Linked DNA regions of Homo sapiens: region 1 is linked to region 2. Evidence: promoter capture Hi-C in 16 types of primary human blood cells and fetal thymus (Javierre and others, 2016). All regions are on one chromosome and are shown on one strand. The core of a region is centred on a gene start or on the middle of the fragment in contact, and the rest is flanking DNA. Distances in the headings are between cores, read along the strand shown.

The links. The method cuts DNA at HindIII sites, captures the fragments that hold promoters and counts their contacts. A CHiCAGO score of 5 or more calls a contact.
Region 1: a contact is called between a fragment that was not itself captured here and the fragment with the promoter of FANCD2 in region 2, in 1 of 17 cell types (neutrophils). The highest score is 5.3, in neutrophils.

The regions. Positions count from the first base shown.
Region 1 is chr3:8,956,133-8,959,410 of GRCh38, forward strand. RAD18 (RAD18 E3 ubiquitin protein ligase) reads right to left here. Exons shown (of 13, transcript NM_020165.4): 2 at 2,788-2,869. Among named protein-coding and RNA genes, the nearest start is that of RAD18, 5.7 kb to the right of the region's middle. The HindIII fragment of the contact is 8,076 bases long and covers 1-3,278 here.
Region 2 is chr3:10,024,992-10,028,707 of GRCh38, forward strand. FANCD2 (FA complementation group D2) reads left to right here and starts at 1,446. Exons shown (of 44, transcript NM_001018115.3): 1 at 1,446-1,482; 2 at 3,634-3,716. The coding sequence starts at 3,667. It also overlaps the pseudogene CIDECP1. RefSeq lists enhancers at 1-273, 909-1,544, 1,545-2,179. The HindIII fragment of the contact is 7,543 bases long and covers 1-3,716 here.

The sequences.
Region 1 (3,278 bases), core at 520-3,019, 1.1 Mb before region 2:
CATACAATTTTCTTTCCTTTCCTTGTTAAGAACTTTCACCTTTTCACTTAAAGGAAGCATTTTATGGTTTCTCTTTGTCATATCCGAATTGCCAGCATCATTACTCTTGTGCTTTGGGGCTACTATTAAGTAAAATAAGCGCTACTTGACACAATTACTGTGTTCTGCAACACAGTGACAATTACTGCCATGCTGCAACAGTCAATCTGGTAACCAGGATGGTCACTAAACGATTAACGGTAGATAGCATATGTAACATCAACACACTTGACAAAGGGATGATTCCCATCCTGGGCAGGACGGCACAAGATTTCATCAGTGCTTTACTTAGAACAGAGTGCAATTTAAAACTTATGAATTATTTATTTCCAGAATTTCCCATTTAGTATTTTCAGAATGCAGTTGACCACAGGTAACTGAAATCACAGATAAGGGGGGACTACAGTACAAAGCCAGTCTGTAACAAAGCCACTGTGAGGGAGTGAGGCCCTGTCTCCCAAACAAAACAAAACAAAAACAACGTTATTAGCTATGTCACAAAATAAAGGAAGAAAATCATATGAGCATCTCCATAACTGCAGAAAATACTTGACAAAATTCAACACCCATTCATGATTTAAAAAAAAAAATCCTCTCGCCTAACCAGGGGTAGAGAAGTGCCTCAACTTGGTAGGTTTATGAAAACATATTAAGAATATAAAAAAAACTTACAGCTAACATCATACTTAATGGTAAAAGACTGAATGCTTTCCCCAAAAAATTAAGAGTAAGGACAGGATGTCCCTCCACACCACTTTCAACACTGTAGTTGAGGTACCAGCCTGTGTAACAAAAAGAAACATAAAGGCATATAGATCAGAAAGGAATGAGTAAAACTGTCTTTATCCACAAATGACATGATTGTGTATGCAAAAATTTCTAAGGAATCAACAAAAAAGATGCTGGAATTAAAGTGAATTTACTGCAGTCAGAAGACGAAAGGTCAATATAAGTTATATTTCTTTGTGCAAGGTCTGTGCAATGAAAATCAAACAACACTGTTGAGAGAAATAAAGATAGAGAAGTGTATCATATTCATACACTGAAGACTCGGCATTGTTAAGATGTCAATTCTCCCAAATTGATCTCTAGATTCAATACAATTCCAGTGAACATCCCAGCAGGCTTTTGGTAGAAATTGACAACCTGATTTTAAGTTATACATGGAAATGCATTTAAAATGCAACGATCCTAAAAAAAACGAAGAAAAAAAAGTTGGAGGACTTACAATGCCTGACTTCAAGACTTACTACAAAGCCACAGTAATCAAGATAGTGTGGTACTGGCACAAGGATAGACATATATGAGTCTAGCATATAAGCATTTTAAAATATTGTACCTTGAGGTATTTACTGCAATAGGGGTTATCCTATCATTGTTCAGGAGTTAGACAAACAGTTTACAGATTATTTAGGTTCATGCTCTTTCCTGTTCTCTATTTTCAAGTTGATTTATCTTGGAAAGCTAAAGCAACAGTAAACTTAGGCCTAAACAATTGGTTTTAGTGGGCAGTAGTTTTGGTGAAAAACTACTAAGTTTCTAAGATCAATGGAATAGAAGAGTCCAGAAATAGACTACAGATGGCTAGCTGAGGTCATACTGACTGAGATGGGGAGAAATTTATCAGATAATGAAAATGTTCAGTATCTTAATTGCAGTAGTAACACAGCATACACATTTGTCAAAATTCATGAACACTTTTATACCTTAATGTGCACTTAAAATGGATGTATTTTATTGTATGTAAATTACACCCAAATAAAGATGATGTTAAAATATATTTTAAAACAATCTCCAAAACTTATCTTGGTTTTTAATGTGAATCTTGTCTGGAAGAAAACTAACATTGTTAAGGACTCATAATGTGCCGGACAGTGAGTTCTGCACATTTAATTCTCACAAACATTTTCTAAAGTAGTAAATTCTCACCCGATTTTCAAGAGTCAAGCCCAAGGGCATCTGCAATGCCCGTGCTGCCGTCACTGCTACCCTCTTACTATGTCTTCTCCACAGAAACTTTTCCACCAAAGCTACTACCAACTAAAACCAATTTCTTAGGCCTAAGTTGACTGTTTTTAACTTTCCAAGATAAATCAACTTGAAAATAGAGGACAAGAAAGATCATGAACCTGAATAACCCATAAACTGTATGTCTAGCTCCTCAACAATGATAGGGTAACCCCTATGCACTAAATATCTTAAGGTACGATATTTTTAAATGCTTATATACTAGACTCTTAAAGAGAAGTACAAACAAATTCCAACATGAGTCTTTCCAGCGTCACATAGCAGTTAAGGTATAAAACTGTCTGTAATAAAGTCAGTGGTAGAATTCTCCCACTGGGGCAATATTCTTATTGTTACAGATTTTTAAACTTTGAAATTCTATATCAAGTACTACTTGGTGGAACCACCTATCTGTTATCCTGTTAAAAACAAAAATTCTGAAACTTAACGTCAAAAAACACTTGGCAAATAAAGAACCACTTATTGTGACCAAAAATTTTACTGCCATAAATGCTATAAGAATCATAAAAATATCAAAGAGGAACGAGGTAGAAAATATAGAAGCCTTGTAAAAACCTTCAATATTCAAGAGGAAGGCAGTGAAAAAGACCTTCTGAAAAACTACAAGATAGAAGAGCTAAAGGTGAAACATAAATATGTGCACATATCTTTGGTGTTAAATTAACACTACCTCATGTAAAAATCGCAATTTACTAACTCACAGGAACAAAACATACTTACAGTTATGTGAACACTGAGGTATTATCATTGCAATGTTGAAATACTCGAAGCAAATTCCACACCGCAGCAAATCATCTATTGTCTGAAATGCAAATATGCATATATACATATCAGAAAGACATCAAAATTGGAAGTCCTGTCACAAAACTTTTTCTCTATCCCCTAAAAAAAAAATCAAACTCTTTGTCAAATACACAAATTCAAAAGCTAACTCCAGATAAACTGCAAGGGATCTTGACAAATAAATAAAAACTTCTCTCATATGACTCTTATACATTCAGTCTCAGGTTGCCCAAATTGCTTTAGACAGCTAAAGATGATGGCACACCGATTCTTGTGCCATATTGTCATCCCTTCACATAAGGGCTACTGTACTTCTGTTCCACTTCTAATGCGCTTCCAGCTCTTACTCCAAGCCTCCTCCTCTTCAGACTCCAACACCTAGCCTATAGTCACTATTGGGTGAAAGGTGGCCATTGCCACCACACAAG
Region 2 (3,716 bases), core at 196-2,695:
ATTGAGGCTGCAATCGCAGTGGTGCGATCATGGCTCACTTCAGCCTCGAACTCCCGGGCTCAAGTGATCCTCACACCTCAGCCTCCCGAGTAGCTGGGACTACAGGCACACACCACTGCACCTGGCTAATGTTTAAATTTTTTTGTAGAGACAGTGGTCTCATTGTGTTGCCCAGGCTGGTCTTGAACTCCAGGGCTCAAGCGATCCTCCCACCTCAGCCTCCCAAAGTATTGAGATTACAGGTGAGAGCCACCACGCCTGGCTGTGAACAAGTTTTTTGATGGCCTACCATGTGCCTTGCACTCTGCTGCATGCTATGGGGTATAGAGTAAGGCAAGGTCATGACCCTGCGCTCAGAGTTTCTGTTCAAGTGATAAAATATGCAAACGGAAAAATAATAGATACTTAATCTAGTGCAACAAGAGCGAAACTCCGTCTCAAAAATTAAATTAAGTTAAATTAAATAAATAAATAAATACTGCAATGAAGTATGTGAGGAAGTTGCCTCCACCCTAGGAAGGGAAATGATAATTACAATTCCTTACATGTCTAACAGCAGTGTTACAGATTGCAAAGCGCTTTGGTGCTTAGCATCTCAGCTAACCATTGGAACAGTAATTTGGTAGAATGCAGATTATCACACTCACTTGACTGGATGTTACAAATACTAAAAGCTATAAAGCACCAGGCACTCTTCCCAACGAAAGGGTGGGATGGGATAGTTCATAGGTAAACCCACCGAGGGTTGGCGACTAACCTAAAGGATTAACAGCACCGTTTTTGTTTTTTGTTTTTAACACTCAATACGTCCTAGATCCTGTGCTAAGGGATTTACAGACATCATCTAATTTGATTCCCACCTGTCTATGAGGGAGGTACTGTTATTATCCCCATTTCACAGAGGACAAAAGTGAAACACAGAGGTAACGGGTAAGGTCACCTTGCCAGTGGGGGCGAGACGTGAACCTAGGCAAACTGACACAACGCCTGCACTTTCTTGTCCAAGGTCACGGCGGTGTGAGGTAGGCTGGGGAAGGGAGGGCGCTGACCTGTCAGATACTTGTTCCTGGGTGAGCTTCTTGTCGCTCTCCAGCAGGATGGACACGTAGTGGCGGATCATGTCTACGAAGAGTGATAACGATGGGTAGGACCACCCAGAGGCAGATGTTGGAGTCAAGCAACAGTTCTGGCCCTGCCATCTTCACTGAAAGCTGGCTCCCAGCCGGTGATGGGCGAGCTTCTCTTCACCGGGGCGCAGTTGCTTCTCTCTGACGTCGCCTCTGGGCCTTCTCTCGCCCCTATGCCCGGCTAGCACAGAACTCTGCTGCAGCGGTGAGCCCAGCTTATTGCCTTCAGCTGGGCTGCCCGGCCTTCCACTTCCGGCGCGGAAGTTGGCGTCACGTCATGGCGCGCCTCGGTGGCGTCAGAGCGGCGTCGGGCCTGGCGGGAAAGTCGAAAACTACGGGCGGCGACGGCTTCTCGGTGAGTAAGTGGAGCAATGGTCGTAGTCTCTCGAGGCCCCGCTCCCCTGCGGCCTAATCTCTAAGTCCGGGCCGCGGTCGGCGTTCTCCTCTGGGGCTCCGCGCCCCGAACCTTGGCTTCCTCATCTGCCCTGAGATGGGATAATCCCCACAGGTACCTTTCTGCGTCATTAAAATGCGGAAACGAGAAAGGCTTTTACCCTCACCCGCTTCCCGATGAACTAATCCAGGCAGTCGGCCTCATCTCACTTCTGTTGGGCTTTTCTGGAAGCCAGATGGTATCGCACGTGTTAAAGGCGGGTGCCTGGAAGCCGGACGTGCTGACAAGACTTAGTTTTTCCATCTGCAAGATGGCTGATAATGGTTATCCGTATTAACCGAAGCGGCGATAAATAAAAAGTTTAGCACAGGGCCCGGTACCTCGTAAATGTTAACCATTATTAGAAGTCATTATAATCATCAAGAGTAAGTATAGGTGGTGAAGAGCGCAGGTGCTGAAGCCAGACTCCGAGTTAGAATCCCAGTTCTGCCCGTGATGATGAGAATAATGGTACCCACCTCAAAAAGTTTTGTGGGAAATAAATGAATTATTAAATATAAAGCACTTGAAACAGTTCTTGTTAGCTTTTAGCATTTCCCCTGCACTGCGAGCTTTTTTCACTCTGAATATTCTCAGAAATTTTCCTTATGCCGGTAACTATGCTGGGCATTAGGGACATTGAGTAAGTGAGACTGGGTTCCTGCTCTCAAAGAGCCCCAGTCTAGTGTGAGGTAAGGGCCCCTAGGTATACCCTGTGGAGCAGGGAAGCTGCAGTAGCAAACTCCCTTAGGGATAGGAGGAACACTTTTCAAGGAAGATGACATTCGATTGAATGTTTAGATCTGAGTAGGAATTTCCAGGCAAATAAGAGCACTTCAGATGAAAAGAACACCTTTGTGCAAAGGCACTGAGACCACGAAGGTTCTGATTTACAAGATTAAAAGGTCATGTGATTCAGGCACTTCCCCCACCTCTGCTGTCTGATTTCTAACTCCACATCTCCTTGTTTCAGTATGAGTATCTATTTGCCTGGACTCCTCTTCTCCTACCCCTTCTACTGGCTAACTGCTGTTTCAGCCCTCAAGTCCCTGCCTAAAAATCACTTCTTCAGGCCGGGCGCGGTTGGCTCACGCCTGTAATCCCAGCACTTTGGGAGTCCGAGGCGGGCGGATTATGAGGTTATGAGATCAAGACTATCCTGGGTAACACGGTGAAACCCCGTCTCTACTAAAAATACAAAAAATTAGCCGGGCGTGGTGGCGGGCGCCTGTAGTCCCAGCTACTTGGGAAGCTGAGGCAGGAGAATGGTGTGAACCCGGGAGGTGGAGCTTGCAGTGAGCCGAGGCTGCACCACTGCACTCCAGCCTGGGTGACAGAGTGAGACTCCGTCTCAAAAAAAAAAAAAAAAAAAATCACTTCTTTAGGCCGGGCGGCTCACACCTGTAATCCCAGCACTTTGGGAGGCCGAGGTGGGTGGATCACTTGAGGTCAGGAGTTTGAGACCAGCCTAGCCGACATGGTGAAACCCTGTCTCTACTAAAAAAAAAAAAAAAAAAATTCAAGGAGATTGTCCCTAAGAAATGGTCCTTGCTTCTCTTTACCACCCTTACTAGCAACTAGACTAAATTTCCTAGTAAGCCCTCATAGAACCTGTACTTTTATAGCACTTACATAACTGTAGTTCAGTACATTAAGGCTATTTGTTACCATACTGTAAATTCCCTGAGGACAGGGATCATGTCTGTCTAGTTCACAGTTGTAACCCCAGCACCTAGCACAGTCCCTAACATATAGTATTGAAATCATGAATTAAAGGACAGGTACGTTGGGGATAGATAATGGAGGGTCTTGAATCTCAGATGGAGAGTGATGGGTTTTATCCTTCAGCAACAGCGAAGTAGTCTGCCTAAAGAGGTAACTAAGACTTGAAAGGAAGGTAGTATTGGCTAGATGTAAGAGTTGAAATTTGCTTAGCACCTAGGTTTAGGTAGCATTAATATGGAGATGTGAGCCCCTCTGATTTTGGATAGAGCAGTTTTCTTTGAACAATAGCTTTAACTTCTCAGAATTTATCTTCTAGAGGGTAACTTCTGTTTCCCGATTTTGCTCTAGGAAGTAATTTAAGTGCACAAGACATTGGTCAAAATGGTTTCCAAAAGAAGACTGTCAAAATCTGAGGATAAAGAGAGCCTGAC